Linked DNA regions of Homo sapiens: regions 2, 3 and 4 are each linked to region 1. The links are contacts of gene promoters, found by promoter capture Hi-C in human tissues and cell types (Jung and others, 2019). All regions are on one chromosome and are shown on one strand. The core of a region is centred on a gene start or on the middle of the fragment in contact, and the rest is flanking DNA. Distances in the headings are between cores, read along the strand shown.

Region 1 (3,846 bases), core at 683-3,182:
TCTCTACTAAAAATACAAAACTTAGCTGGGCGTGGCGGCTCACACCTGTAATCCCAGCTACTCGGGAGGCTGAGACAGGAGAATCGCTTGAACCCGGGAGGCAGAGGTAGCAGTGAGCCGAGATCGCACCATTGCACTCCAACCTGGGCCACAGAGCAAGACTGTCGCAAAATAAAGAAAGAAAATAAAAATGAGGTTGGAGGAAACTCTGGAGGCACAGCAGGTCCTTGGATTGGACTCCCTCCCTCCCTCCCAGGATAAAATGAAATCCAGGCCTCGTTCACACGGCCCTGCACGGCCCGGCCCCGCTCCGTGGTCCTGCCCCAGGGCCTTCGCACGGGCCTGCCCCGCACACGGTTCTCTGGGGGTCGCTGGCTCCCCGCTCAAACGGCCCCTCCTGCCGACCAGGCGGGTCCCCGGGGCCGCCCTCCCTCTGGCCTGGGCTCGGGGTCGGTGGCTCGCGCCTGCCACCTGGCGGCCAGCGGGGCTGCGGCGCCGCACGCTCTGGCACCAGCCTCCTGCCCCGGCCGTGCCCTCCGCCGGGAGCCGCGGACCAGGAGTCGCACCGCCTCCGGGGACCGCACCCCGCATGCAGCCTCCAGCCCCTGCCTCTTGCTGCTCGAGGGCACACGACCCAGGTCAGCTGCAACCCCCGGGCGGAAATCCCGACTTTTAAATGAATGCTCCCTTTTTATCCCTTTTTAAGGGGTTGGCAACTAATTGCACATTTTAAATCATACTGTTTTTAGGCCGGACGTTGTGGCTGAAGCCTGTAATCCCAGCGGTTTAAGAGGCCAAGGCCTAAGCCCAGGTGTTGGAGACCAGCCTGAGCAACACAGTGAGACCCCCCATCTCTACTAGATATATATTTAGTATAAATAAATAATAGATATATGTTTTTCTTTGAGACAGAGTCTCATTCGCCCAGGCTGGAGTGCCTGGGATCTCGGCTCACTGAGACCTCCGCCTCCCGGGTTCAAGCGATTCTCCTGCCTCAGCCTCCCACCACGCCCGGCTTTTTGTACTTTTTGTAAAGACGGGGTTTCGCCATGTTGGCCAGGGTAGTCTCGAACTCCTGATCTCAGGTAATCCACCCACCTCGGCCTCCCAAAGTGCTGGGATTACAGGCCTGAGCCAAAGCGCCCGGCCTTTTTTTTTTTTTGAATGCCGTTTTCAGACATGGTCCGTGACGGGCAGCCGTGACATGAAGTTAGACCCTGCTTGGCTCGGACAGAACTGGCGACTTGTTTGACCTACACCAAGCTATCCGACTAATAATTTAGATGTTGAGGCCCCTAAAGAGGGGTCAAGGGGGAGGCAGATGTCGACCAATAAGGAAACACTGGGCCGGGCGCGGTGGCTCACGCCTGTAATCCCAGCACTTTGGCAGGCCGAGCTGGGAGGATCACTTGAGCTCAGGAGTTCGAGGCCAGCCTGGGCAGGACAGTGAGACCCTGGCTCTACAAAACTAAATAAATAAGGAAGCAGTGAATTCCAATGTATTCATCGCCAACTAGCCATGTTGCTGGGTGTGCGCTCTCTCTTTTAGGCGCAATGTGTCATTTAGGCCTGTGACGTCGGAACTTTATTATTTGAACATTTAAAAATAAATGAATCCAAGAGCTTGAGTCACTTGGCCAAAAATGCCCAGGAGGAAAAGGCCAAGTCAGGTACCCCGGCTCTAGAGCTACTAACTGATCGCCGGAGACCCTGGGCCTTGGAAGAAGTCGCCTCCCCAGATCTCTAAGCAGGCCGCGCGACCCTCGAGTCTCAGGTAAGCGGGAAATCCCACTTCACAAGAAAGCCCCTCTCTCCGAGGCACGGGCGCATGCGCGGGTCGGCCACCCGCTGGGGCCGCGGGGCCGCCGCTCTGGCCCGCGTGGGGCAGTCGTCCGCGTCTCGCTCATGATGACGCACGTCCGGGGCGGTGGGGAAGGCAAGATGGCGGCGCCCATGGAGGTGGCCGTGTGTACGGACTCGGCGGCCCCGATGTGGAGCTGCATCGTGTGGGAACTTCACTCGGGCGCCAACCTGCTCACCTACCGCGGCGGCCAGGCGGGACCCCGCGGCCTGGCGCTGCTCAATGGCGAGTATCTGCTGGCGGCGCAGCTGGGCAAGAATTACATCAGCGCCTGGGAGCTCCAGCGGAAGGTGCGGCGGTGCGGTCTCGCTGCTGGGGTCATGGGGCGCCCGAGGCTGAAGTCGGGGGATGGGTTGGTGGGGGCCGCGTGCACCCTTAGTCGGAATTGGCGTGGGGAGGGGAGGTGGTCTCCGTTCGGGCGCTCTGCGCATGCGCGGGTCTGGGGGCTTTGGGGAGATACGTGCGACCTGTTAGGCCGCTCTGCGCACGCGCGGGGCTCAGGCCTGAGCTGCTATGGGGGCAGTGGGGGAAAATGGGAGACGCTCCGGGGGGTCCCTTGGGGCAATTGCGCATGCACGAGTTCTTGGAGCGCGAAATTTGATTAAAAGGGGCCTATGAGCTCTGTGGATGTTGTGGTTCTGGAGGAAAAGGGAGAAGGACCAAGGTCTGGGGGAGTCTCCCATGAAGGGGTGGCGCAGGAAACTCATGTTTATTCCTCCAATAAAGCAACAGATACTCACCGTCGCCCACAGTTTCCCCTCTACTCCCAAGCCCAAATGCAGCCAGTCCCTGAAGCTACTCGCTTCCCCCGTGTGCCCGCTGAGATCTCTTGGGACTGGCTCTGTGCTCCAGCATTGCCTGATGGAGTCTACACACAACTCATAAATTTCTCCCATTTTATTTTAGTTTTGAGACAGGGTCTCACTCTGTCGCTGAGGCTGGAGTGCAGTGGTGCGATCTCGGCTCACTGCAGCCTCTGCCTCTAGGGTTCAAGCGATTCTCGGGCCTCAGCCTCCTGAGTAGCTGCAACTACAGGCCCGCACCAACCACCACACCCGGCCCACATTTGTATTTTTTGTAGAGGCAGGGTTTCACCATGTTGGCCAGGCTGGTCTCGAACTCCTGACCTCAAGTGATCTGCCCACCTCAGCCTCCCAAAGTGCTGGGATTACAGCCGTGAGCCACCACGCCCGGCTGAGTTTTCCCATTTTAGAGAGGAGGAAGCTGAGGCTTGGGGTCTTAGGTTGGACATTATGGATAGAAGGATTGGGGCACAAGCCTACTGGGCTCTTGGGCCCCAGTGTCCTTCTGGATCCTCTTTGTTCTGTTCCTGTACTCCTCCCACCCAGGGCCCCTCTGACCCTCAGAGGAAGCACCAACCTCACATCTACCACCTCCAGCCTCGAAGCCTCTTGCAGGGGCGAACACTTCCTTGCTGGACCATGCATTTGCTCAAACCACCCTGCTCCCGACTCCTCTTCCTGGTTCTCTGACTTAGCCATTGCCCAGGCGTCCCCTCCCCTCGCCCTCCACTGCTGTAGTAGCTCCCGTGTCCTGCATGGGGCTCACGAGGCTGACTGTGCATCCTTAGGACCAGCTCCAGCAGAAGATCATGTGCCCCGGGCCTGTCACCTGTCTGACTGCATCACCCAATGGTCTCTACGTCCTGGCAGGAGTTGCAGAAAGCATCCACCTGTGGGAGGTAAGAGGAGCAAAGCGTGAGCGTTTCCCACAGGACATCTCAGCCCATCTGAGCTTTGCCTGCAGGGCACCAGGGAACAACCATGCGGCCTGGGGCCCTGGGATGGGTGACTGCTCAGGGGTTATAGCCTAAGCTTCACCCTGCTGCCTCCTTTCTCCAGGTCCCCTCGAGACTTGCGAATCCCAGACCAGCCCTAATCCTGCCTTGAGTGCTTGGATAGAGCCCGGTGCAGCCCAGTCCCCGGCACTCACACACCGCAGCATCTTCCAGGGCTAGCGGGCAT
Region 2 (3,846 bases), core at 535-3,034, 450 kb before region 1:
GAGTCTCTGTCGCCCAGGCTGGAGCGCAGTGGCGCTATCTAGACTCACTGCAAGCTCCGCCTCCCGGGCTCACGCCATTCTCCTGCCTCAGCCTCCCGAGTAGCTGGGACTACGGGCGCCCGCCACCACGCCCAGATAATTTTTTGTATTTTTAGTAGAGACGGGGTTTCACCATATTAGCCACAATGGTCTCGATCTCCTGACATTGTGATCCGCCCGCCTCGGCCCCCCAAAGTGTTGGGATCACAGGCGTGAGCCACCGTGCCCGGCCTGTATGTTGATGCAGCTGTGTGTACCCAGGGCATAGCAACAATGCCACTGGCACAGTCCGAGGGCAGGGCCACCCGTCACGGGCACGACTCAGGGGAGGCTGGGCTGCCCCGTCCTCACCACGGCCAGTTCTCCCGACCAAGCTTCACAGCAAGGAGCATGTGGGTGTCTGGGCAGCCACTGAGCCAGGTCAGAAGTCAGGTGGGGTCACAGTGATGCCCGGAATCAGCTGGGGTCAAGACTCAGGTGGGCTGGGCGCGGTGGCTCATGCCTATAATCCCAGCATTTGGGAGGCCGACGCAGACGGATCCCTTTATTAGTCCAAACTGCATCCTCCCCTTCCTTTCAAAACCTAACAACACACTTGAGGTCAGGGGTTCGAGACCAGCCTGGCCAACATGGTGAAACCCCATCTCTACTTAAAATACAAAATTAGCCGGACGTGGTGGCGGGCACCTGTAATCTCAGCTACTCGGGAGGCTGAGGCGGACACTAGCTTGAACCCGGGAGGCGGAGGTTGCAGTGAGATTGTGCCACTGCACTCCAGCCTGGGCCACAGAACGAGACTCTGTCTCATTTAAAAAAAAAAAAAAAAAAAAGACTCGGGTAGGACAAAGGTCAGGCTGGGAGGAGGGCACAGCCAGGCTCGGGCTCAGCTTGGGGTGGGGGCTCCGTGGGGCTGGCGCCTCTCCCGGGTCAGGTGCTGAGCCGATGCTGGCCGGCGTAGGCCTCTTTCCCAGTTTCTCTGGGGGGCAGGAGCACCTTGCCAACCTCTGATGGCTCCAGCGCCTGCACTCGCCTCACACCACATGGTGACTTCAACGGGGACCAGGGAAGCCCTCGCCCCTCCCACCCCTCAGAGCCCTCCCCGACCTCGCCCACTTCTCAGAGCTCCCGCTGTCGGGGGAACCGAGGCAGCGCCGCGCCTGGAAGCCAGGTCTGCGGATCCCGCCTCGCTCCCGCCCCTTCCTCCCTTCCGCGTGGCCAGCGCGACCCTAGGACAGACTTCGCGCCCGTCCCCTGCACAGACGGGGAAACGGAGACGGGGACGCGGGGTCGCGCCGGATGGACCGGCCCTGCCCCTCCGGTCCCGGTCAGGACCCCGCGCCGCGCCCCGTTCACCGCCCGCGGCCCCGCCCCGCGCCGGCACGTCACAAAACAACCCCAAAGCCGGGGGACCGGGCCGGTGACGGCGCAGAGCAGCCCTGCCCGCCTCCTTGCGCACAGCGTCCGCGGTGCTGGTCGAGCAGGGGGCGACGGCGGCGGCCTCGGGGATCGGAAGAGCCCGGGGCTGCGCGCTCGAACCCTCCCTCCCGGCGGAGGCGCTCGGCGCCGTAGGCGGGACCGGGGCCGGGACTCCACCTCCCGGCGTCCCCTGCGGCCGGGCGCGCAGGCGCAAGTCGGACCTGGCCGCGGAGCGCAGGCGCAGTCGGGGCCAGGCGGTGCGCGCAGGCGCAGCGGGGGGCGGGGCGCGCGGGCCCGGCCAAGGCAAGCGCCGGTGGGGCGGCGGCGCCAGAGCTGCTGGAGCGCTCGGGGTCCCCGGGCGGCGGCGGCGGCGCAGAGGAGGAGGCAGGCGGCGGCCCCGGTGGCTCCCCCCCGGACGGTGCGCGGCCCGGCCCGTCTCGCGAACTCGCGGTGGTCGCGCGGCCCCGCGCTGCTCCGACCCCGGGCCCCTCCGCCGCCGCCATGGCTCGGCCGCTAGTGCCCAGCTCGCAGAAGGCGCTGCTGCTGGAGCTCAAGGGGCTGCAGGAAGAGCCGGTCGAGGGATTCCGCGTGACACTGGTGGACGAGGGCGATCTATACAACTGGGAGGTGGCCATCTTCGGGCCCCCCAACACCTACTACGAGGGCGGCTACTTCAAGGTGAGCGCGGCGACCCCCGCCCGGGTCCCGGAGCCCACGAGCGACCTCGGGCGCCGGGAACCAGCTCCCTGCCCCGCGGTCCTAGCGCTGTTGCTGGGCGGGCCCCGAAGCCTCCTGGCTTGGGCTCGTTTCCCTTCTATGGCCACGTTCCCCCACCCAGCTCTGCCCGGCCCCCTCCTCGGACCGTCTCGGGGACCTTCAGCCTCTGCTGCAGTCCTCGAAAATCCCCAGTTCCCTTCAAGGCATCGTCCGGTCCCCTGTTAGGCTCTTGGCCCCCGGAGGGGTGGCCGGGGGCCCTCCCTGTAGCATCTGGGCGTGGGGCTCTTGCCCACCTCCTCCTTGGCGGGGGCTGGACCCCGGCTGCCTCCCCCTCCGCCCCTGCGAGAAAGAGGGAGCGGAGCCCAGGCCGCGCCGGCCTTTCAGCTGCCCTCCCCGCCCTCCCCGGAGGAGACAAAGAGGCCCCCCCAGACCCCGTAGCTGCTATTGTTGGGGAGCTGGGCCCGTGAGCGGGGGAGCGAGGCCAGCCTGGGGGTGGCTGGCGCGGCCACTCGCTCAGTCTCCAACAAAGGCCCGGATGAGCCTTGGCAGCCAGGACCCGCCTGGAAAGCGGCCACCCTTGCCAGTAGCAGCCGGCCAGGCGCCCTGGGCTCCATCCCCTGCTTTATGTAACCTGCGCCCTCGGGAAGGCCGAAGTAGGGGCGTGCCTCCCACCTGCTCCCTGCAGCTCTCTCCAGGCCTCCCGGCTCGGGCCCGCGTCCCGGACCCCGACCTCAGAAGCTCCGGGCTCGCTCATCCCAGCTGGTCTTGGCCTTTCTCAGAGTCCACTGAACAGGTGGCTTCTTGGGACCCAAACCCCGAGTTCTGGGCCGTTTCTTCTGCCCTCTGGCGGTTTAATTCCAAGCAGTTTCTGGATGTTTTTGTTGTTGTTGGGAGCGGGGAGGCTGTTTCTGTCTCATGTGAAAAGGACTCAGGCCAAAACCAGGGCAGTTTTCTTGATCTCACGATCCAGACGTGACCTTTGACTTCTTTTAGCGTTCAGGGACCTCGTTCTTGGGGCCAGAGGGACAAAGCGAGGGGCCCTGTGTGAGCGGTGGGGAACGAGCACCCTGTCCAGGAATCTCCCCCTCCCACCGTCACTTCCTGCCAAGAGCCTGGACACGACACGACACTGCAGGGCCCGGCCCGCTCTGCCCCGGCCAGCTGCGGGCGTGGGGCCGAGGGACCGATGCCTCCCGCACGATATGTGTCTGCTCTCCGAGCTAATTAGTGTCTGAACCGCACCCGCTCAGCGGCTGTGAGGGCAGCAGCCTGGTCTGCTGGGGGCGATTCCTGAGCAGAGAGTGGGACGCCCGTGGGTTCTGCATCTGGAATCCTGCGTCCCCACACAGGGAACAGAGTTTGGGTCTCGAGGTTGCCAAATGGTTTTAGCAGCTCCTCCGCCAGCCCCTTCTGTCTGCTTGGGGGAGCAGCTGGCTGAGGAGCCGCAGCCCCACCTCGAAGCCAGGCCTGTGAGGCGGCTGCTGTTCTGGAAGGAGGGGATGGGGGTTTCTGGCTGCTGTGCCCACCAGACCGGTTGCCAGGGATTGTGGGCAGAGCTTCCTGGGCCAGCATTAGGGGATAATCCGGTTTTCCGGATTTCCCAGGGAGGGGGCCTCTAGACATCTGCCACAGGGTCAGTCCTCAGAAGCCAGTGTTGAGACGGGGGTGCTGCCA
Region 3 (3,846 bases), core at 451-2,950, 350 kb before region 1:
GTTCAAGCGATTCTCCTGTCTCAGTCTCCCCGGGTTCAAGCGATTTTCCTGCCTCAGCCTCCTGAGTAGCTGGCACTGCAGGCGTTCACCACCATGCCCAGCTAATTTTTGTATTTTTAGTAGAGACAGTGTTTCACCATGTTGGCCAGGCTGGTCTTGAACTCATGACCTCTTGATCCGCCCGCCTCGGCCTCCCAAAGTGCTGGGATTACAGGCGTGAGCCACCGCACCAGGCCTCGGACCCTTGACCTCTTGATCCGCCCACCTTGGCCACCCAAAAGTGCTGGGAGTACAGGCGTGAGCCACCGCACCAGGCCTCGAACCCCCGACCTCTTGATCCGCCCACCTCGGCCACCCAAAAGTGCTGGGATTACAGGCGTGAGCCACCGCACCTGGCCAGGTTTTTTCCCTTTATAAAGGTTCTCCCGCCTCTCCCTTCCCGGCTGCCTAATGGACGCAGACAGGATGTGGGACAGAAGCACCGGCGGGAAGCAAGCACAGGGAAGCTCCCACCTCCCTCCCACACCACCAGCCAGGCCAGGACGAGGGCCTGCCACCGCTGGAGCCTGGGCTGTCCCTCCCAAGTTTCGCAGTCATCCAGTCTCCATTAGGCGCCTACCCCCCAGAGCCAAGCCAGGACAGCTGAGTCAGTTCAGGGTTCACATCCTGGCTCTGCACATGTGGCCTTGGCGGCGGGGCCGGGGGGGGGGTCTCTCCAGACATAATCTTGGGCCTCACCTATGTCCCTGGAAAGTGGGAGCACCTGGTGGGGTTCTGGGGAGGGGGAATTACGAGAGCTCCAGGAAGGAGCCTGCTCAGCAAGGACAGGGCCCATGAGCGGTGCAAGAGATGTTTCAGCAACGCCGTCTGGGCGTGTCCTGGGACCCGAGAGGTGGAGACCGCCCTCAGCCTGTCTCAGAATCTGAGCCTTTGCCTTTTCTCCCGGCAGCAGGGAGCGGACTCTCCTCTCCCGGGCCGCCGTGGGGGTCGCGCTCACCCTCCAGCAGCTCCACGTGGCCCCAGTCCTTCCTGCGGTCTTGGTCTTGCTCCTGGGGGCTGGCGGACGAGCTCCTCCTGGGGCCGCAGACGCCACCGGCGGTCCCTGCGGGAAAGACGAGAGCGGCTGAGCGGGGCCGGGCGTGTGGGCGGGGGCCTCCATAAAGGCAGAAGCCGAAGGGTCGAAGGGCAAAGGAGCCCTAAACGCAGCGGAAACTCTCGGAGCACGGGCTTAAGTTGGAAAGAAACTAAGACAGCGAAGGTGGAAGGGCCCCGCCGCGGCGAACACGGGCGCGGAACCGCCGAGAGAGGGTTCCTCGCACTCGAGGTGCAGCAGGTCAAAGGTTAAGAGCCCTAAACACCACACCTGGGGTCAGGAGGCTGCATAAGAAACCACGAGTCAAAGGTCAGACTGCACGGAGGAGCCTCAGTCGAAAAGCGGGCAAGGGCGAGTGGAAAGCGGGGCCGGGTCGGTGGGCTGCGCACGCCCAGGTGCAAAGAGGCAAAGGTCAAAGCGCCAAAGGCCCCGGCCGCGCGGGGAGGAGCCCACGCCGTGGCCCCCGGGCTGCCTGGCCGTCTCCCTTTGTGTTACCTTCTTTGCCGGGGAGTCCCGGGCGGCCGCAAGGCCGTAGGGCTCGTTTGAGCCCCGCCGCTCCGCGGCCCCAGCAAAGTGCCGACATTACGCACGCCGCTCCAGGCCACCCCACCGGCCCGCGCCTGCGCATGCGCCCGCGCCGCCTGCCGGGAGTTGTGGTTTCATGGTCGACGGAGGCTGCGAAGGGAAACCCCAGCCGGAAGTAGACTCCCAGGATGCAGCGGAGGCGCGAAGGCATGCGCCGGTGGACGCTCTGATTGGTTCCTCCTGCTGTTTTTAAAGGGAGGGGGCGGGACAGAGCTGTTGCCGTGGCAACTGGGAGGCACTCTCAGGCTGTTTTCCCGAGGACCTCAAATCCGGACTTTTTTTCTGTTTTTCTTTCTTTTTTGGTTTTGTTTTGGACGCGTTGTGGCCCAGGCTGGAGTGCAGTGGCGTGATCATAGCTCAGTGCAGCTTCGAACTGCTGGGGTAAAGAGATCCTCGCCCCTCGGCTTCCCAAAGCGCTGGGATTGCAGACGCCGCCACCGTGCCCGGCTTTTTTTTTTTTTTTTTCAAGGCATACTCATCTAATAACGAGGACAGCATCTGCAATTTAGAGATTCCTGTCCGCAACCTTCATTGCTCCAACGACAACTTTTGGGTAAGAGTCATTAGGATGCCGTCTATCATGGAGGAAGCTGAGGCTCAGAGAGGGCCACCAAGTTGCTGGAAGACACAGCACGTGCGACCTCAGGGAGGCTGCAAGGAGAGAAAGCCCCAGTCCGCGAGACTCCCAGCCTCCAGCTTCAGTTTACCCTCCAATCCCCAAGCCCTCAGGGGCAGGAGCCGAATGGAGCGGCAGGCTTGGATTCACCTGCTAAGTGGGGTGAGGTCAAGGGAATGAAATAAACCTCGGAGCCTAGAGCCTGCCCTGGTCTCCGCGTGATCCTGCCTAGGAGGAGCAGGGCGGGAGCTTTAGAATGGAACCTGGAAGGTGTGCCCACCTGTGTCGTTCAGCCGGGGCAGCAGGCCAGAGGCGGGAGCGCCTGCTGTGGGGCAGTAGGCTTGGGAAGGGTGAGAATAGGAATATCTGGGGGTAACTGTGTTCCAGGCTAATATCCCAGTTGCAAAGGGGAGCTGGTTTGGTGGCTCAGGCCTGTCATCCCAGCACTTTGGGAGGCTGAGGCGGGCGGATCACCTAAGGTCAGAGTTCGAGACCAGCTTGGCAAATACGCAAGCATGCCTGGCAACATGGCAAAACCCCGTCTCTAGTAAAAATACAAAAATTATCCGGGGGTGGTGGCGGGCACCTGTAATCCCAGCTACTCGGGAGGCTGAGGCAGGAGAATCGCTTGAACCCGGGAGGCGGAGGTTGCAGTGAGCCAAGATCTCGCCACTGCACTCCAGCCTGGGTGACAGAGCGAGAACCTGTCTCAAAAAAAAAAAAGTGCAAAGGGAGGTCAGTTCAGTGCCTCAGGCCTGTAATCCCAGCACTTTGGGAGGCTGCGGCGGGAGGATCGCTTGAGCCCAGGAGTTCCAGACAAGCCTTGGGCAACCGAGATACTGAGACCCAGTCTCCACCAAAGGAAAAAAAGAAATTAGCCAGGCATGGTGGTGCACACCTGTGGTCCCAGATACTCGGGAGGCTGAGGCAGGAGGACTGCTTGAGCCCAGGAGGTTTAGACTGCAGTGAGCTGAGATGGCGCCACTGTACTCCAGCCTGGGTTGACAGAACAGGACCCTGTCTCAAAACAAAACAAGTGCAAAGGCCCTGAGGCAGGAACAAGCGTGGACAGAGGAGCAATTTGAGCAGAGTGGGGCTGGGGAGAGGGAGCAAAGATGTAGCTGGGGCTCAGTTAGGGGGCCTGACCACACGGGGGCTCGGGGGCCTCAGCTCAAGCTATCCTCCATCCCCAAACCCTGGCACTTCAGTTTCCCCATCAGCCCAGAACGAGGACTCGACCTCACTCTGGAAGGGCCTGGCAGCCTCCTTACAGCACATTCCAGACGCTGCTGCCGACGCCTGCGTGAGCGCACTGATGCCACCGGCTGGGAATGTTTTCGACAGACGGCAGCACCCTCCCTCACCTGCCTCAGTCCACCTCAGGGTGCCCCAGCGGGCTGTGACCTCAGACCTCACCCACTACTGGGGTCACCTGCCTGGCCCTGAATCAGCCAGGCCTGGTGTGCCAAGACCTACAGACACCCCCTGCACCCCTGCAGGCTGGCAGAGCCAGAAACTTGGGTGGAAACCGACTTCTGAACTATTTCACCAT
Region 4 (3,846 bases), core at 934-3,433, 290 kb before region 1:
GTCACCCAGGCCGCAGTGGTGTGATCACAGCTCACTGCAGCCTCGACCTCCCAGGCTCAAGCGATCCTCCCACAGCAGCCTTTCAAGTAGCTGGGACCACAGAAGCACAGCTCCGGTGCGGAGGACTCTGCGGGGAGGAGGGGGTGGGTGAGATGGGGGTGACGGCTGCCCGTCTGGGCCTCAGTCCACTCATCTATGAAATGGAGGCCCAGTAATCCATTTAATGCTCACGCCGGCCCCGTGATAATATTAGGTTGGTGCAAAAGTAATTGCACGAAAAAAATTAAATGGCAAAAACCACAATTAACTTTTTTTTTTCCGACAGAATCTCACTCTTTCCCCTAGGCTGGAGTGCAGTGGTGCCATCTCGGCTCACTGCCACCTCCACCTCCTGGGTTCAAGTGATTCTCCTACCTCAGCCTCCCGAGTAGCTGGGGATACGTACAGCCACTTGCTACCATGCCCAACTAATTTTCGTATTTTTTTTTTGAGACAGAGTCTCGCTCTGTCCCCCAGGCTGGAGTGCAGTGGCGCGATCTCGGCTCACTGAAAGCGCCGCCTCCCGGGTTCACGCCATTCTCCTGCCTCAGCCTCCTGGGTAGCTGGGACTACAGGCGCCTGCCACCACATCCGGCTAATTTTTTTGTATTTTTAGTAGAGATGGGGTTTCACTGTATTAGCCAGGATGGTCTCGATCTCCTGACCTCGTGATCCTCCTGCCTCGGCCTCCCAAAGTGCTGGGATTACAGGCATGAGCCACCGCACCCAGCCTAATTTTCGTATTTTTAGTAGAGACAGAGTTTCACCATGTTGGCCAGGCTGGTCTCATACTCCTGACCTCAAACAATCCACCGTGTCCCAACGTGAGGGGGACTGCAGGCTGGCGGGGGAGCTGGGGACACTGCAGCCCAGGACCAACCTATCCCGTGCCTGGTGGGGGCTCCTGCAGGAGGGGACCCACCCACCCTGGCCCCAATATACATTTTAATAGTTATTATAACAATATGTTTAAAACGAGGCAGGGCATGGCGGCTCACACCTGCAATCCCAGCACTTTGGGAGGCAGAGGCGGGTGGATCATTTGAAGTCAGGAGTTCGAGACCAGCCTGGCCAACATGGTGAAATCCAGTCTCTACTAAAAATGCAAAAATTAGCCAGGTGTGGTGGTGGGCGCCTGTGATCCCAGCTACTCGGGAAGCTGAGGCAGGAGAATCGCTTGAGCCCGGGAGGTGGAGGTTGCAGTGAGCCGAGATTGCACCGTTGCACTCCAGCCTGGGGAACCGAGACTGCCTCAAAAAAAAAAAAGAACATAGTGACAGTTACAGTAACAGAATATGTACTTGTTGCGCCTGTTGCTTCTTCTGTGCTTCTTTTGCCTCCCTGCCTTATCCTCCTGTTTTCCCTTTGTTGCCCTTTAAATCCAGCCCCTGCTGAGACTCCCCCTCCTGCAGGAGCCACGGCGCCCCCAGCTCCCCCACCAGCCTGGAGTCCCCCTCATGTCGGGATACGGTGTCCAGAAAGAAGGGGCCCGACAGGTGAGCTCACCTGTGGCTGAAGCAGTGGGCGGCCGAGACCACCCAGCGGGCTCGCAGCAGGAAGCCTCCGCAGTGATGTTGGCCCCCGAAGCGCACGGATGCCATGTAGGGCCTGGAGTGGGGGGTCACCTCGTGGCCCCCGATGATCTGGGCCCCCCAGGAGCCTGCTGGAGGGACGGCCTGAGTCAGGGACGAGGCGGGAGGAACGGATGACGGGGCTGGGGTCAGGGCAGGGGGAGAAGTAGCGGCCAAGACAGAGACAGGGGGTGAGATTAGAGACGGAGAGACCCAGAGAGCTGGAGACAGAGCCCAGACAAGCCCCCCAGATGCGCTGGGAGGGGCTCCCGAGCCCGGGAGATCCAGGGCTGGGCTGGGCAGAGACCCCGGCCGGATTTCCATCCATTTCCAGCAGAGGCAGCCACGGGGGCTCGGCAGATGGAGCAGGTGGAGCTCTCCCCAGGGTTCTCCCGGGACTGGGGGTTCCCGGGTGTGGCCCCCGTACGGGGACTTGGCGGGGGCCTGGGTGGGGATCCCGGGGGGCTCCTCACCGGGGGGCTTCACGGGCAGCATCAGGGCGGTGGCCACAGTCAGCAGAGGACGTCCCCAGCCCCTCAACCCGAGCCCCATGGCAGACGCAGGCTGGCGTCTCCCCGCAGAGGTCTTCGGGCCGTGGCTCCCACCCTCAGCCAACGGCCGGAAAGGGGGAGCCTGGCTGTGGCCTGTGGTCGGGAGGCCCCACCAGCAACGCCTGGAGCCCAGGCGGGCGTTTCTGAGAAATCGATGGTCTCAGGTGGTGGCTGGTAATAATCATGTTGATAATAATCATTGTCCCCTAGTCCGGAAACAGGGAGAGGAGGAGACAGCTCTGGGGCTGCAAGTGACCTCGGGAAGGCAATTGACCCTTCTGTGCCTCAGTTTACCCAGCCTCCACGTGGCCCAGCATGTGTGGGGAGCTTTCCGAGGAACCGAGGTCACAGCGGCACTCGAGACCCGCAGCTCGCCTCCGGCCCCCACCCCGCAAACCCCAGTCTTCCCATCTCCAAACCCAGGGCCGACCTCAGGGCTGTGGGGACAGCGAGGAAGGCCGGTCTCCTGGGAAGCTCTGATGATTTCTGCCTTTATTTTATTTTATTTTTATAGGTGGGGTTTTGCTATGTTGCCCAGGCTGGTCTCGAACTCCTGGGCTCCAGCGATCCTCCCTCCTCGGCCTTCCAAAGTGCTGAGATCACAGAAGACAGCCACTGCACCTGGCAGATTTCTGCCTTTATTCAGCAGTTATTGAGTGCCTAGTGTATACCAGACCTCATGCTAGGAGGTGAGGATGAGGCAGTGACCGCACCCCAGCCTGTAGCACTGACGTTCTGTGGGATCCGGAGTCCAGTGGGACATGGCTGTACATGGGGGTCTTCACCTTTTTTTTCTTTTCTTTTTTTTTTTGAGATGGAGTCTTGCTCTTGTTGCCCAGGCTAGAGTGGAATGGCACCATCTCGGCTCACCGCAACCTCTACCTCCCGGGTTCGAGTGATTCTCGTTCCTCAGCCTCCCGAGTAACTGGAACTACAGGCGCCCGCCACCACAGCCGGCTAATTTTGTTTCTGTATTTTTAGTAGAGACGGGGTTTCACCATATTAGCCAGGATGGTCTCGATCTCCTGACCTCATGATCCGCCCGCCTCGGCCTCCCAAAGTGCTGGGATTACAGGCATGAGCCACGGTGCCCGGCCTTTTTTTTTTTTTTTTTTTTTTTGAGAAGGAATCTTGCTCTTGTTGCCCAGGCTAGAGTGCAGTGGCGCGATCTTGGCTCACCGCAACCTCTGTCTCCTGAGTTCAAGGGATTCTCCTTCCTCAGCCTCCTGAGTAACTGGGATTACAGGTGCCCACCACCACGCCCCGCTAAATTTGTGTGTTTAGTAGAGACGGAGTTTCTCCATGTTGGTCAGGCTGGTCTCGAACTCCCGACCTCAGGTGATCCACCTGCCTCAGCCTCCCAAAGTGCTGGGATGACAGGCCTGAGCCACCGCGCCCAGCCCGGCAGGTCTTCACCTTTCAGTGGGAGCGTTCTTAGTGGCAAAGTTCAGGTCGTAAATTGCAGCTCACACAGCCGGGTGATGGCGTTCACGGCAGTGGCTAGCAGTGGGGTGCTCGTCAGCGCTTAATAATGAACAGGCTGGGGCCGGGTGCAGTGGCTCACGCCTATAATCCTAGCACTTTGGGAGGCCGAGGCAGGTGGATCACCTGAGGTCAGGAGTTCAAGACCAGCCTGGCCAACATAGTGAAACCCCGTCTCTACTTAAAGTACCAAAATTAGTCAG

Evidence for each region. Contacts are between HindIII fragments. The study calls those that stand out against the background at their distance.
Region 2: a contact is called between the fragment with the promoter of CDC34 here and the fragment with the promoter of WDR18 in region 1, in 1 of the 25 tissues and cell types used here (spleen).
Region 3: the fragment with the promoter of POLRMT here is called in contact with the fragment with the promoter of WDR18 in region 1 in 1 of the 25 tissues and cell types used here (dorsolateral prefrontal cortex).
Region 4: a contact is called between the fragment with the promoter of PRSS57 here and the fragment with the promoter of WDR18 in region 1, in 1 of the 25 tissues and cell types used here (lymphoblastoid cells).

The regions. Positions count from the first base shown.
Region 1 is chr19:982,413-986,258 of GRCh38, forward strand. WDR18 (WD repeat domain 18) reads left to right here and starts at 1,933. Exons shown (of 10, transcript NM_024100.4): 1 at 1,933-2,151; 2 at 3,453-3,563. The coding sequence starts at 1,942. RefSeq lists silencers at 199-588, 1,753-1,842 and enhancers at 1,527-2,468, 1,893-2,042, 2,073-2,252. The HindIII fragment of the contact is 34,067 bases long and covers 1-3,846 here.
Region 2 is chr19:529,976-533,821 of GRCh38, forward strand. CDC34 (cell division cycle 34, ubiquitin conjugating enzyme) reads left to right here and starts at 1,785. Exons shown (of 5, transcript NM_004359.2): 1 at 1,785-2,133. The coding sequence starts at 1,957. RefSeq lists silencers at 1,290-2,029, 2,450-2,619 and enhancers at 1,826-2,482, 2,880-2,929, 3,000-3,159. The HindIII fragment of the contact is 13,520 bases long and covers 1-3,846 here.
Region 3 is chr19:631,837-635,682 of GRCh38, forward strand. POLRMT (RNA polymerase mitochondrial) reads right to left here and starts at 1,701. Exons shown (of 21, transcript NM_005035.4): 1 at 1,589-1,701; 2 at 998-1,102. The coding sequence starts at 1,676. It overlaps LOC105372234 (a long non-coding RNA gene), which reads left to right and starts at 1,628. Exons shown (of 2, transcript XR_936226.2): 1 at 1,628-2,059; 2 at 2,148-3,846. RefSeq lists silencers at 1,485-1,644, 1,655-1,914. The HindIII fragment of the contact is 7,301 bases long and covers 1-1,773 here.
Region 4 is chr19:693,269-697,114 of GRCh38, forward strand. PRSS57 (serine protease 57) reads right to left here and starts at 2,184. Exons shown (of 5, transcript NM_001308209.2): 1 at 2,084-2,184; 2 at 1,546-1,699. The coding sequence starts at 2,162. The HindIII fragment of the contact is 19,970 bases long and covers 1-3,846 here.